Linked DNA regions of Homo sapiens: region 1 is linked to region 2. Evidence: promoter capture Hi-C in human tissues and cell types (Jung and others, 2019). All regions are on one chromosome and are shown on one strand. Each heading gives the region's core, a stretch centred on a gene start or on the middle of the fragment in contact. The rest is flanking DNA. Distances are from core to core; before and after follow the strand shown. Region 1 holds the start of GMCL2 (germ cell-less 2, spermatogenesis associated). Region 2 holds the start of B4GALT7 (beta-1,4-galactosyltransferase 7).

Evidence for each region. The method cuts DNA at HindIII sites, captures the fragments that hold promoters and counts their contacts. A contact is called where the count stands out against the background at its distance.
Region 1: a contact is called between a fragment that was not itself captured here and the fragment with the promoter of B4GALT7 in region 2, in 2 of the 25 tissues and cell types used here (lymphoblastoid cells and small bowel).

The regions. Positions count from the first base shown.
Region 1 is chr5:178,186,211-178,193,395 of GRCh38, forward strand. It overlaps GMCL2 (germ cell-less 2, spermatogenesis associated), which reads right to left and starts at 1,161. Exons shown (of 1, transcript NM_001358008.2): 1 at 1-1,161. The coding sequence starts at 1,089. The HindIII fragment of the contact is 8,651 bases long and covers 1-7,185 here.
Region 2 is chr5:177,597,037-177,604,013 of GRCh38, forward strand. B4GALT7 (beta-1,4-galactosyltransferase 7) reads left to right here and starts at 3,096. Exons shown (of 6, transcript NM_007255.3): 1 at 3,096-3,224. The coding sequence starts at 3,175. It overlaps TMED9 (transmembrane p24 trafficking protein 9), which reads left to right. Exons shown (of 5, transcript NM_017510.6): 5 at 1-206. RefSeq lists enhancers at 2,249-2,348, 2,549-2,728 and a silencer at 2,909-3,448. The HindIII fragment of the contact is 7,199 bases long and covers 554-6,977 here.

The DNA of each region.
Region 1 (7,185 bases), core at 2,546-5,045, 590 kb after region 2:
CACAGAAGACAGCCATTCTGAAGGTACTATACCATCTTGTTCAATAATTCTTGCAGAAGCTAGGTCACTGATAATATATTGTAACCTTAAATGTCTGAATACTGACACAAATGGTTTTCCTGGTTCAGTTTCAAGAAAGGCCATACCTTCAAAATCTTTTCTCTGTTTAGAAAACCAGACATCTGTTTCTGTCAAAAGCTGTTTTAAAGATCCATTCCAAGAAGGCACAAGTTGAAGGAACATCCACTTTTTTAGAGTGGTGTATACATCCATCTCCACTTGCATCACAAATAAGTTAGAGGAACCAATGAGCTGTTTCATGACATTTATACCGAGTTCTTTAAAAAGTTTAACATTCTGGTGAGTCATCAAATTGTTTAGAAGCCATTCAAGGCACTTTTTCTTTACAGAATCTAATCCATAGATCTCTACTGATGTGTAATAACCGCATACAGTTTTCACATTAATTGTTTCCTTCATTGTCTCACCACACTGCTGTATTAAACCATCCAGCTGCAGCATACAAGCTGCTGCCAAAATGGCAACAACTCGACTGGGTTTTATCAAGACATCATCTCGATACAGTGAACCAAACGCAACCTGCAGTGCGTCTACATCAATGTTCTGGTCAGGAATCTCCAGTTCAATAATATTCATGCTGGATTCTTTCCAAGAACCACTGAACATACTAGAAAAGTAGCCAGATTGACATAAATATATTTTGTGTAATCGCCATTCTTCTCCTAGAGCACAAATCTTAATGTCACTGTTTTCACCATTCAAAAATAATGTTTGATAAATATATTTGGATGTACTCCTTAATTTTTTCCTTGCAGGGGTGTTGAGGAGCGGCTGCTGCTTGTCCCCCTCCTCCTCATGCTCCTCCCTGTGCGAGTCCGGGTCACAGTAGCGGCAGGCCCCGCTGCTCCGCTTGCGCTTGTGACTGCCCGGGCAGTAACAGAAGCCGTAGCTCGCCGCATCGTCTCCAGTGTCCGGCCTCCGGGCCGAGCCCCTGGCCCTGGCACCCTGTTCCTGCTGGGCAAGGGCTCGCCTCGGCTGGCCCAGCACCCGGCTGCTCGACGATCCCATGGGTCACGGCTCCCCAGGACTTCAGGGAGCCCAGAGGAGGGGGTCTCTGGCCATGGCCCGGCCGCCGCCGCCAGCCTTCCCCGAGCACAGGTGCCTACACCGCCACCTTCTCACGCGCAGCCCCAACCGTTGCAGCGGACACTGCCGCCTCCAACCTCCGCACCCCTCCCCCACAATTTTTTTTTTTTTTTTTTTTTGAGACGGAGTCTTGCTCTGTCGCCCAGGCTGGAGTGCAGTGGCGCGATCTCGGCTCACTGCAACCTCTGCCTCGCGGGTTCAAGTGATTCTCCTGCCTCAGCCTCCTGAGTAGCTGGGATTACAGGCGCCCGCCACCACACCTGGGTAATTTTTGTATTTTTAGTAGAGGCGGGGTTTCCCCATGTTGGCCAGGCTGGTCTCAAACTCCTGACTTCAGGTGATCCTCTTACCTTGGCCTCCCAAAGTGCTGGGACTACAGGCGTGAGCCACTGCCTCCGGCCTAAAACAATTTCTTTTAGAGACAAGGTTTCACTGTGTTTCTCCGGGTGGTCTTGAACTCCTTGGACAGCATTCTTCATTGCTGGAAGCAATTCTCATCTGGCAGCCAAAACCAAGGTCCGTTTTAGAAGGACCACTTCCCTAGGAGCAAAGTTTTATTTGCAAGACCTGACAAAGGAAAATGTGTGTACCAGACGCTTGAGCCTAACCAGTCCAATGTAAATTTGCGACCAGGCACAAAAATAAAATAAAATAATAAAATAAAATAGGCCAGGCTCGGTGGCTCATGCCTATAATCCCAGCACTTTGGGAGGCCAAGGTGGGTGGATCACATGAGGTCAGGAGTTTGAGACTGGCCTGGCCAACATGGTGAAACCCCATCTCTACTAATAATATAAAATTTAGCCAGGTGTGGTGGTGCACGCCTGTAATCCCAGCTTTTCGGGAGGCTGAAATGGAGAACTGCTTGAACCCAGGAGGCAGAAGTTGCAGTGAGCCAAGATCGCATCATTACATTCCAGCCTGGGCGACAAGAGCGAAATTCCGTCTCCAGAAAAAAATAATAAGATAAAATAAAATAGAATAAAGACTTGAAGTCAAGCCAGGTACGGTGGCTGCTCACACCTGTAATCCCAGCACTTTGGGAGGCCGAGGTGGGCAGATCACGAGGTCAGGAGTTCAAGACCAGCCTGGCCAATATGGTGAAAGTGACCATGGCTGGGTGAAATGATCACTGCAGCCGGTCTGGGAAGGCAGAAGCAAGCAGAGGGCCTGGGCAGGATAGGCAGGGATTCTCTGTGGGGAGGATCTGTGGAGACAGGGGCAGCAGGATTAGGATGTCGGAATTGAGGAGGCTTTTGTCCTTGGGGGATGGAGTGGAGAAGTGGGGCATGGTCCTGGAAATTTGCCCTGCAGCCTCACCAGGCCATCTGGAAGCTACTTGTTGGGAACCCCGTGTGTGTAAAGGGCTGACCCAGGCCCAGACCCGGAGGAACTGGAGAAGGGCACACACTGAGACCACCCGAGGGGTGTGCTGGAACTGCTTGGCCAGTCCTTGGGGATGGGATGGCTGGGGCATGTGGGTGTCTTCCTGTAAGAAAACAGGACTTGATGAGGAAGGTGGGAGGCTGTTCCAGGCAGATGGAGGTCTGTGCCCCCAGAGCAATGTAGGAGTCGCCATGCGGGGCTCCATCTTTGGTACAGTGGGGGCAGAGATTGGCGAGGGGCATCAGGGCCAGATATGTAGGTGTGGGGAGCCCTAGATGGGCCAGTGCTGCAGGGGGAGGCAAGGTCATGCCAGGGAGGTGGATGGGACGCTGGACACAAGTGAAGAGTGACCAGCCCTGTGGCTTCCTCAAACCTATGTGAGTGCCTGCCCCATTCCCAGATGAAGAAAACAGAGGTTTCAATAGGGAAAGTGACTTGTTCTAAATCCCAGAGTTGGGAAGTCAGGAAGCTCAGCCTCCTGATTCCAAAGGCAAATCTGGAGTTTCTGTTGGAGTTAAGGGGCCAGGTGAATGGTCTATGTTGACCAAAAAAAAAAAAAAAAAAAAAAAAAAGCTCTGTAAAATGTTTAAAGAAGTTTATTCTCTGGCGTGAACCCGGGAGGCAGAGCTTGCGCCACTGCACTCCAGCCTGGGTGACAGAGCGAGACTCCATCTCAAAAAAAAAAAAAAAAAAAGAAGTTTATTCTCAGCTGATATGAGTGACCATGACCTGGGGTACAGTCTCAAGAGGTCCTGAGAAAGTGTGCCTCAGATGGTTGGGTTATAGTTTGGTTTTATACATTTTAGGGAGACAGAGGTTACAAGCAAATACATCAATCAATACATGTAAAGTACACATTGCTTCAGCCTATAAGGGCAGGACAACTCCAGGGGAGTTACAGGTCATAGGTGATTCAAAGGTTTTCTGATTGGCAATTGGTTGAAAAAGTTAAGCTTTGTCTAAAGAGTTGAAGTGGCTGGGTACAATGACTGACATCTGTAATCCCAGCACTTTGAGAGGCCGAGGAGGATGGCTTGATCCCAGGAGTTTTCAACAAGCCTGGGCAGCGTAGTGAGACCCGGTGTCTACAAAAAAATTTTAAAAATTAATTGGGCATCGTGATGTGCACCTGTAGTCCCAGCTACTTGGGAGGCTAAGGTGGGAGGATTACTTAAGCCCAGGAGGTCGAGCCTATGGTGAGCCATGACTGTGACACTGCATTCCAACTCGGGGGACAGAATGAGACCCTGTCTCAAAAATAAAATAAAACAGGCCAGTTGCAGTAGCTCACACCTGTAATCCCAGCACTTTGGGAGGCCAAGGCAGATGGATCACTTGAGGTCAGGAGTTCAATACCAGCCTGGCCAATATGGTGAAACCCCATCTCTACTAGAAATAGAAAAATTAACTGGGAGTGGTGGCATGCATCTGTAATCCCAGCTACTCTGGAGCCTGAGGCAGGATAATTGCCTGAACCTGGGAGGTGGATGTTGCAGTTAGCCGAGGTCGCACCATTGCACTCCAGCCTGGGCAACAAGAGTGAAACTCCATCTCCAAAAAAAATAGTAAGATAAAATAAAATAAAGAGTTGAAGGCATGGTGGCTCACGCCTGTAATCCCAGCAGTTTGGAGGCCAAGGAGGGCAGATCACGAGGTCAGGAGTTCGAGACCAGCCTGGCCAATATGGTGAAACCCTGTCTCTACTAATAGTACAAAAATTAACTGGGTGTGGTAGCACACATCTGTAGTCTCAGCTACTCTGGAGGCTGAAGCAGGAGAATCGCTTGAACCCAGGGAGGTGGAGGTTGCATTGCACTCCAGCCTGGGCGACAGAGCGAGATTCCATCTCAAAAAAAAAAAAAAAAGCGTTGAAGTCAGTGGGAAGAAATGCTTGGGTTAAGAAAGGGGTTGTGGAAGCTGAGGTTCTTGTTACGTAGATGAAGCCTCCAGGTAGCAGCCCTCAGAATAGATAGTGAATGTCTCTTTTCAGACCTTCAAAAGTCTCAGACTCTCATTGAATCTCTCCTAAATCTGACAAAGTCCTGGCTACATTAATGGAAATTCTCTACAGATGCAAATTTCCCCCATGGGAGACAGCTTTGCAGGGCCATTTCAAAATATTGTCAAATAAATATATTTTGGGGTAAAATATTTTGATGCCCTTCAGGGTCTGCTATCTGTTACGTGATGTACCAGAGTCAGGTAGAAATTTGGCATCTTATTGCTACAAAAATTCTGTTTTGAGCCAGGCACGGTGTCTCACACCTGTAATCCCAGCACTTTGGGAGGCTGAGGTGGGTGGATCACCTGAGGTCAAGAGGTCAAGAGTTTGAGAGCAGCCTGGCCAACATAGTGAAACCCCATCTCTACTAAAAATACAAAAAATTAGCTGGATGTGGTGGTGGGCGCCTGTATTCCCAGCTACTCAGGAGGCTGAGGCAGAAGAATTACTTGAACCCGGGGGCCAGAGGTTGCAGTGAGCCAAGATCATGCCATTGCACTCCAGCCTGGGCAACAAGAGCGAAACTCTGTCTAAAAAAAAAAAGTCTGTTTTGTCAGTCTTATGATCTCTATTTTATTTATTTATTTTTAATTTATTTTATTTTATTTTTGAGACAGAGTTTCACTCTCGTTGCCCAGGCTGGAGTGTAATGACGCTATCTCGGCTCACTGCAGCTTCTACCTCCCAGGGTCAGACAATTCTTGTGCCTCAGCTTCCCAAGTAGCTGAGATTACAGGCATGTGCCACCATGCCTGGCTAATTTTTTGAATTTTTTGTAGAGATGGGGTTTCATCATGTTGGCCAGGTTGGTCTCGAACTCCTGACCTCAAGTGATCCACCTGCCTTGGCCTCCCAAACTGCTGGGATTACAGGAATGAGCCACTGCGCCTGGCTAGAATAAATACTTTATGCTTTGGGCCAACAGGCAAAATCGAGGGTATGAAGTCGGTAAGTACATACCAAGAAATGAAACCAACTTCCATAATTTGGGGGGATTGCTATTGACAGAATGTCAAAGTTAATTTATGGATGCTGAAAGTTGAGTTTCATACAATTTTTATGTGTCATGAAATATTATTATTTTCATTATTTATTTATTTATTTGTTTATTTATTTATTTATTTTTGATACAGAGTCTTGCTCTGTCATCCAGACTGTGATCTCAGCTCACTGCGACCTCTGCCTTCTGGGTTCAAGCGATCCTCTGCCTCAGCCTCCCAAGTAGCTGGGATTACAGGCACATGCCACCACACCTGGCTAATTTTTTTGTATTTTTAGTAGAGATGGGGTTTCACCATGTTCAAGGCCAGGCTGGTCTTGAACTCCTGACCTCAAGTGATCTGCCTGCCTCAGCCTCCCAAAGTGCTGGGATTATAGGTGTGAGCCACTGCACTCAGCCTGATTTTTTTTTCAATGATTTAAAAATGTAAAAACCATTCTTTGTTCAGGGATCATATAAAATCAAGCAGTAAGCAAAATTTGGGCTATGGGCCATAGTTTGCCAACTCCTGGTCTAGATCTGCCCTGTTCATCATAGTAGCCACTGGCTACATGCAGCTATTGAGTACTTGAAATGTGGCCAGGGACAGTCACGATGGCTCACACCTGTAATCTCAGCACTTTTGGAGGTTAACGTGGGAGGATGGCTTGAACCCAGCAGTTTCAAGTTACAGCAAACTATGATTGCAACACTGCATCCCAAACCTGGGTGACAGGGAAAGAAAGAAAAAGAGAGAGAGAGAGGGAGGGAGAGAGAGAGAGAGAAGGAGGAGGAGGAGGAGGAGAAAGAGAGAAAAGAAAGAAAGAGAAAGAAAGAAGAAAAAGAAAGAAGAAAGAAAATAAGAAATAAGAAAGGAAGAAAAAAGAAAGAGGGAGGGAGAAAGGGAGGAAGGAAGGGAAGGGAGGGAGGAAAAGAAAAAGAAGTGTGGCTGTACTGAATTAAAATATGCTTAGGTGTAAAATACACACTAGATTTTGAAGACAGTACAAAAAGAAAATATCCCAATAACTTTTTGTTGATTATATTTTGGATATCTCAGAATAAGTAAAATATATTATTGAAATTAACTTCACCCCCCCCCCTTTTTTTTTTTACTTTTTTTTACTTTGTCTTAGTCCACTTTCTGTTGTTCGAATATCTGAGACTGGATAATTTTTAAAGAAAAGAGGTTTATTTAGCTCACGGTTCTGCAGGCTGGGAAGTTCCAGATTGGACGGCTGCATCTGGCAGCTTCTGGTGAGAGCTGTGTGCTGCACCAAAATGTGGCAGAGAAATGGAAGGCGGACCAGGCACCTGGAGGAAAGGGGGAAAACACGAGGGGCGACCTTGCTTGATGACAACCCAACTCTGAAGGTAACTGATCCAGACCCAAGAGAGTGAGAACTCACTTCTATGGGACTTGCATTAATATCCTGTCGTGAAGGCCCATCCCTCATGATCCAAACACCCCTGAAAGGTCCCCCCACGTCTCAATGCCGTTATATTGGCAATTAAATTTCAACATGAGTTTTGGTAGGGGCAAACCACATCCAAACCATAGCATCTTCTCACTGTTGAGTCACTTTTTAATGTGGCTATTAGAAAAATTTAAATGACATGTGTGTTTGCACTTGTGGCTGTTTTGCATCCG
Region 2 (6,977 bases), core at 1,846-4,345:
AGACAAGTTTGGGGGCTGCTTCCCCTAATGGGATGATGCAATCTGGGCTCATGCTGCCAACTAATTCTTCCACATGAAAAAAAAAAGTTTTTTGGCGGGCACGGTGGTTCACACCTGTAATCCCAGCACTTTGGGAGGCTGAGGTAGGTGGATGGCCTGAGGCCAGGAGTTTGAGACCAGCCTGGCCAACATGGTGAAACCTCATCTCTACTAAAAATACAAAAAATGAGCCAGGTGTGGTGGCGCATGCCTGAAATCCCAGCTACTTGGGAGGCTGAGGCGGCAGAATTGCTTGAACCCAGGAGACAGAGGTTGCAGTGAGCCAAGATCACACCACTACACTCCAACCTGGGCTACAGTGAGACTCTGTCTCAAAAAAAAAAAAAAAAAAAGGCCGGGAGCGGTGGCTCACACCTGTAACCCCAACACTTTGGGAGGCCAAGGCGAGCAGATCACGAGGTCAGGAGATCGAGACCAACCTGGCTAACATGATGAAACCCCATCTCTACAAAAAAAAAAAAAAAAAAAAATACAAAAAATTAGCCAGGCGTGGTGGTGGGCGCCTGTAGTCCCAGCTCCTTGGGAGGCTGAGGCAGGAGAATGGCGTGAACCCAGGAGGCGGAGCTTGCAGTGAGCCGAGATCACTTCACTGCACTCCAGCCTGAGCAACGGAGCAAGTCTCCATGTCAAAAAAAAAAAAAAAAGTATTTTTAAAGAACAGCTTTAAAAGTGCAGAAAAATTGTGAAGACATTTTCCCTATTAGTAACATCATGCATTACTTTATCCAGACTTCCTTAGTTTTTACCTACTGTCCTTTTTCTGTTCCAGGATTCCACATCACATTTAGTCACTGTGTCTCCTTAGGCTCCTTTTGGCTGTGACAGTTTCTTAGACCTTCCTTGTTTTTGATGATTCCTTGACTGTTTTGAGGAGTACAGGTCAGGTATTTTGTACGATTTCTCAGCTAGGATTTGTCTGATGTTTTTCTCATGATTAGACTAGAGTTGTGGGTTTTTGAAAAGAGACCACAGGCTGGGCATGGTGGCTCACGCCTGTAATCGCAGCACTTTGGGAGGCAGAGGCAGGCGGATCACCTGAGGTCAGGAGTTCGAGACCAGCCGCCAACATGGTAAAACCCCGTCTCTACTAAAAATACAAAAATTAGCCAGGCGTGGTGGCAGGCGCCTGTAATCCCAGCTACTCGGAAGGCTGAGACAGGAGAATTGCTTGACCCCGGGAGGCAGAGGTTGCAGTGAGCCGAGATCGTGCCACTGCACTCCAGCCTGACTGACAGAGTGAGACTCTGTCTCAAAAAATAAATAAATAAATAAAATAAAATAAAATAAAAAAGTAGAAAAGAGATCAGAGTTGAAGTGTCATTATCAACATGGCTCTTAGCTGGATATCACATTTAAAAATTAGATAATTTGGGTTTTCATTTGAGATCTGATTTCTTGAGAGTGTGAATCTGACAATCTGAAGTAGAGCTTCATCCTGATATAGTAACAGCTAACCGGATGGAGTGGTCCCCTTTAGATGGGCTGTGCATTGACCACGGTTCTGGGGTAGGATGCAGTGCCCTGGGGGAGTCAACAGGAAGGGGAATGGGTGGATTATATACTTCCAGGTTTACGGGGTAAAGGGGTTACTGGGAATGATTCATTTCCCACCCACGGTGAAGTTCTCTCTGGAGCAGAGTGATTAAGATCATAGATTGTGGGGAAGAACAAAACAAAAACCCCAAACCCATAGATTTGCAACCAAACTACCTGATTTGCCTCTCTGTGCCTCAGTTCTCTCAATTTTAACTTGGGGATAAGCACCTACCGATAAGGACTACGTGAGATAACCCTCATGTAGTAAGAACTATTAACAATGACTGGCACATAATAAGAACTTAATAGATGTTTGCTATCTATTAGGAAACTTAAAAGTTTGCCTGGAAGAGCAGAGGAGGTCAAGTCTAACAATTGCCGCTTTCTTTCCCCAGGTAGGAGGCTAGTAGGAGGGGTGGGGGGGCTGGGGGTGAGGGGGATGGTTAAGTTCCCACGGTGACGGGGCAGATATGGGAACTCAGTCTCCTATTCCCTTCTTCAGTTCTCAGCTCCACCAAAGTACCCTTTTCCTGGATGACAGCTGTCATTTATATGGCGTTGAACTGTGTGCCTAGCGCTGCACAAGTGTTTGCACTTTCTCCTTGAATCCCCACAGCTACCATATAGAATAGGAGCCATTGATATACCCAGGTGAGGAAACAGATGCAGAGATGTGGCTTGGTCAAAACACAGCTGAATTGGCAGAGTCTAGTTTCTTTTTCTTTTTCTTTTCTTTTTTTTTTGACGGAGTCTCGCCCTGTCACCCAGGCTGGAGTGCAGTGGTGCGATCTCGACTCACTGCAAGCTCCGCCTCCTGGGTTCACACCATGCTCCTGCCTCAGCCTCCCGAGTAGCTGGGACTAACAGGCGCCCGCCACCACGCCCGGCTAATTTTTTGTATTTTTAGTAGAGACGGGGTTTCACCGTGTTAGCCAGGATGGTCTCGCTCTCCTGACCTCGTGATCCGCCCGCCTCGGCCTCCCAAAGTGCTGGGATTACAGGCGTGAGCCACCGCGCCCGGCAAGCAGAGTCGGGTTTCAAATTCAGTCAACTTGTCTTCAGGGCTCGGCTCCTAACGCCTGCGCGGGCTGTCAGCTGAACTCAGCGCCGAGCCGTGAGCTTGGCTTTGCCCCTCCAAGCTTGCGCGGAGAACGCGCCGCCTGGGCCGAGACGGGGACCCCGGGACGCTCCCGCCTCCCCTCGGAAAGAGGACGGAGATGCAGATTCTCCCCGAGCGTTGGTTTGGGAGTCTGGACTCTTAGGTCCAGTCCCAGCCCAGTGATTTGTTGGGAGGCCCTGGGCCTCTGGGCTTCAGTTTCTCGGGCTTCCAGGCGGGTCCCGGGGCGGCTAGGAAGGAGCCGCCCAGAGAGGGAGGCGCGCCCGCGCTGCTCGCAAGCAGAACCTTGGAGGCGGCGGCTCCGGGAGCTGGCGGCGCGGCCGGAGCGGCGGACCCGGCGGACCGGGGGGCGGGGCGGACAGGCCTGGGCGGAGCGGGAGGCGGAGGCGCCGCGTAGGCCCGGGAGGCCGGGCCGGCCGGGCTGCGAGCGCCTGCCCCATGCGCCGCCGCCTCTCCGCACGATGTTCCCCTCGCGGAGGAAAGCGGCGCAGCTGCCCTGGGAGGACGGCAGGTGAGCGGCGGCGGTGGGCCCGGGCCCCGTCCTCCCGGGCGCCGCTCCCTTCTCGGCCGCCGGCGGAATCTGGGAACCCGAGGCCATCACGTCTCCATGTCTGCGGGTTTCTGTGAGGGCGTGTGGTTCTCCCTGTGGGTCCCTGGCGCTCTGTTCCGGTTTCTGTCTGTCCCTGTGGGTCTCTGCCTCCCCCGCCCCCTCTCCCTTTCCGCGGCACTCGTCCTTCCCCCAGCACCTTCCCCCCGGCCCGTGGGTCCGTATTTCTCCATTGACTTCCCTTTGTGAGTTTCTGATCCCCTCTTTGCTAGTCTCTCTCGTTATGTGTTTCGTTGTGTCTGTGTTTCTCCACCAGCCTCCCTCTATCTGCATGCGGGTCTCTGACTCCGCTGACCTCTCACCATGGATTTGTGTTTCTCAATTTGTCTCTGATCCCTGAGGACGTGTATTCCGTTTCTCTGGTCTCTGCCTTCCTCATCACATCCATATAGCCTCAGACCCTACCCTTCCTCCTTAACACTTCCCCCCATCCTTCGCAGGCCACCAGCAGAACCCACCAGACAGAAGCTCCGTGCTCTGCCTGGCTGGTCACTGCCTGGCACGTACTAGACACTCCTTATACACGCATTAGTCCATTTCCTGTGCAGCTGTATTGGCCCTACGTGAAAGATGCGAGCTTGGCCCACACCTTAGCTAATTTTGTTTCTCACTAAAGCAGAATGGGGAAAGCGATTTGACTGCCTCCATTCGTGGGGCACTTGAGATGTGTCCCTGTAAGTCTTCTCACAGAACACATGACTGGATCTCCTCCTCGTGAATGACACCTCATTTCCTTCATGTTTCTTAAGTCCGTCAGGTGCCATAAGATTCTGGAATTTAGTGGCCACAACTTGTACTTTTGGGGATTTTTCAGACTTGGTGTTGAAAGGGGAAAACAGGAATATAATAGAAAGCGTGGACTAGCGTTCGACCTGGGCAGGAGTCCTCCGTAATTATGTGAGCAGAGACCCCTGCATCTGTCCGACCGCAGCCTTTCCGTCACTGAGCCAGTTATGACAGTATTGGCTCTGCAGGGCTGTGTGAGGATTAAAGGACCGCACACATGTAAAGAGCATGGCACTGCCTAGCACAACAGGAGGTGCCAGTTGTCTTCCCGTTACCTTTGCAGTTTTGAGGTCCTGTAACCAGAGCAGCTGAGGATTCAAACCTCGTAGTACGAAGGTCTGTATGAGACAAGAAAGGAAAGGTAACAGAGGAGCATTTCTATTTCCTGATCCTTTTCCATAGCTGTTTCCAGAGAAATTTACTGATGTCAATTCTGTGCTTTTGACACAGGGTTGGTGCAAAGATCCACGCAACTGATGCAGGCTAGTGTAGCTATCTAGTGTAGGCTCTGGAGCCAGCCTGCCTGGGTTTGAATCCGCCTTTTACTAGTCTTGGGCAGTGATTGATGAGGGAGACAAAGCCTCTTCTGGACTGCCCCTCAGAGCCAGGGTGGCCTGGGCCTGGGAGCCACTGGGACTGCAAATCTGGTTTGCCACCTGGTGGCACCAGGAACAATTGTTCTCGGTGTCCACTGTCCTGAGGAATTGGGACTCTGGGTTCAATCCAGTTGCTCTGCGGTTTGTGCTCTTAGAGCACAGGATGATGCCCATGGGGATGTGGTCCTCATAGGAGAGGGGAGCAGGGCCGAGGGAATTAGCGTGTGGACGTGCTCGGAGTACCCAGTCCACGCCGTTCCCCTGGATAATAGTCACTGCTTCTTTTCATGAAGGTGGGATATCACCCCATATCCATCTCTCCAGTCTCTACCCTGTCCCCAGAAAAAGCCCAGAGGGCAAGGGAGAATCTGTAGAGGTTCCAGCCTTCCCAGACCACTCTCAGGACTGGGCTGTGCTCCTCCCCAGCTGAATCCACCACCACAGGATAATGGGGGGTAAGTCAGAAGCCCTGGGGGGTTTCCTACCAGGCCACCTCTCAGCTGCGTGTGGAACCTGGGCCTGGCTGCAAGGCTACTGGCTTCCAGGTTGGCGGTCTCTCTAGAAAAAGGGAGGAGTTGGTCTGGCTTTAGCATGTGACTTAAGGCATGCCCTGACTGCCTTACCCCTTTCTGTAACTCACTTGGCAAGCTCTCTGCTGTCTGGCCTGTGCTTGCTGTGCTGGGGCCACAGATAAGAATCTGACACGGCCTGAGAAGCAAGGACACAAGGCATTACAAAAAAGTGGGAAGATGCCGTGGGAATACAAAAGTGGGAGCATTATGGGGGCAGGGGGCAGTGCTGGCCATGACATTGGAGTTCGGCTCTGAAGGATCAACAGGGGTCCTCAGGCAGATAAAGAAGGACATTTCAGGCAGAAGGAGCAGGCTGTGTGAGGGCTGGAGCAGGAAGGAATATAGCAAGTGGAGAAGCTCCGAGGTGCCCAACATGAGAACATGGGGCGAAGGCTTGGGAGCACCTGGAGTTGGGGCCAGGTCATGGAGGGCTTTGACTGTCAGGCCAAAGGGCTTGGCCTTTGTCTGGCAAACAGAGGAGGGTCATTCAGAAGACTGAAGGGGTCTGAGCAGGGCAAGGAACAGATGAGTGAGGAAGGATCAGAGGGGGACTTAGGAGATAGAATTTATTTATTTATTTATTTATTTATGAGATGGAGTCTCGCTCTGTTGCCCAGGCTGGAGTGCAGTGGCGTGATCTCAGCTCACTGCAACCTCCGCCTCCCAGATTCAAGCTATGCTTCTGCCTCAGCCTCCCAAGTAGCTGGGACTATAGGCGCGTACCACCACACCCAGCTAATTTTTGTATTTTTAGTAGAGATGGGGTGTTACCATATTTGCCAGGCTGGTCTTGAGCTCCTGACCTCGTGATGCACCTGCCTCGGCCTCCCAAAGTGCTGGGATTACAGGCGTGAGCCACCACGCCTGGCCAGGAGATAGAATTTATAAGACCTGATAGCTAATCGCTGACTCTTAAGATTGTGAAGTGGATTCCTTTGCAGATTACTTTGGGGAGAAGGTAGGGGGAGTACAGAGGAAGCTTCTCCCTTCATGGATTCCTCAGCTCCTGTCTCAGCATACTCAGGAACTTCCAGAGGAGCGGCAAAGGAATCTGGTGAATTCTGTTTCTTTGTATTTGCTAACCAAAAGGCTGTCTCCTGGCATCACCCCAGTGTCTGTGATGTTCAGCTGTTTTTCCAGTTTCTGAAATCAGTGCCTGTGCTGTACCCAGCCCTCATCTTTCTTTCCCTCTCCATCTCCCATCTTTTATCATGAGCTGCCTCTTGGACTAAAGGTTTGAGGCTCGTTCAGTGAACCGCCACTGACAGTTTGGGCCTTGCATTGCTTCGGGGGGCACGTCTGATCTTCCCAGAGTAAACATTGGTCATTTTACCTGGACTAATGCCAGCACACACCCGTGTCTGGGTGGCCTTTCTGGTCATTCTTGGAAGCAGGATGGAGCCACGGTTTCTGCTGGGGTGGATCTGTAGGGGAGCGGGTTTGGAAAGCAGTGGGTTGCATCTCTAAGGTGGGGACTCCTGTCATTGGCTCAGGACATTGAGCCACTATCGTGGGGAGGAGCACCTGCAAGTGACAGGAGCCTCCTCATCCTTGCCCTGAGCAGCTCTGACCAGGACTCAGTCACAGAAAGTAAGAGAGCATTGAGGAGCCGGGGCAGCTCTGTGAACTGGGAGTGGTTCAGAGGGCTTCCCGAGAGCGGGTGGCATGGGTTGGGTCTAGAGAGGCAAGCAGGATTCGGATGC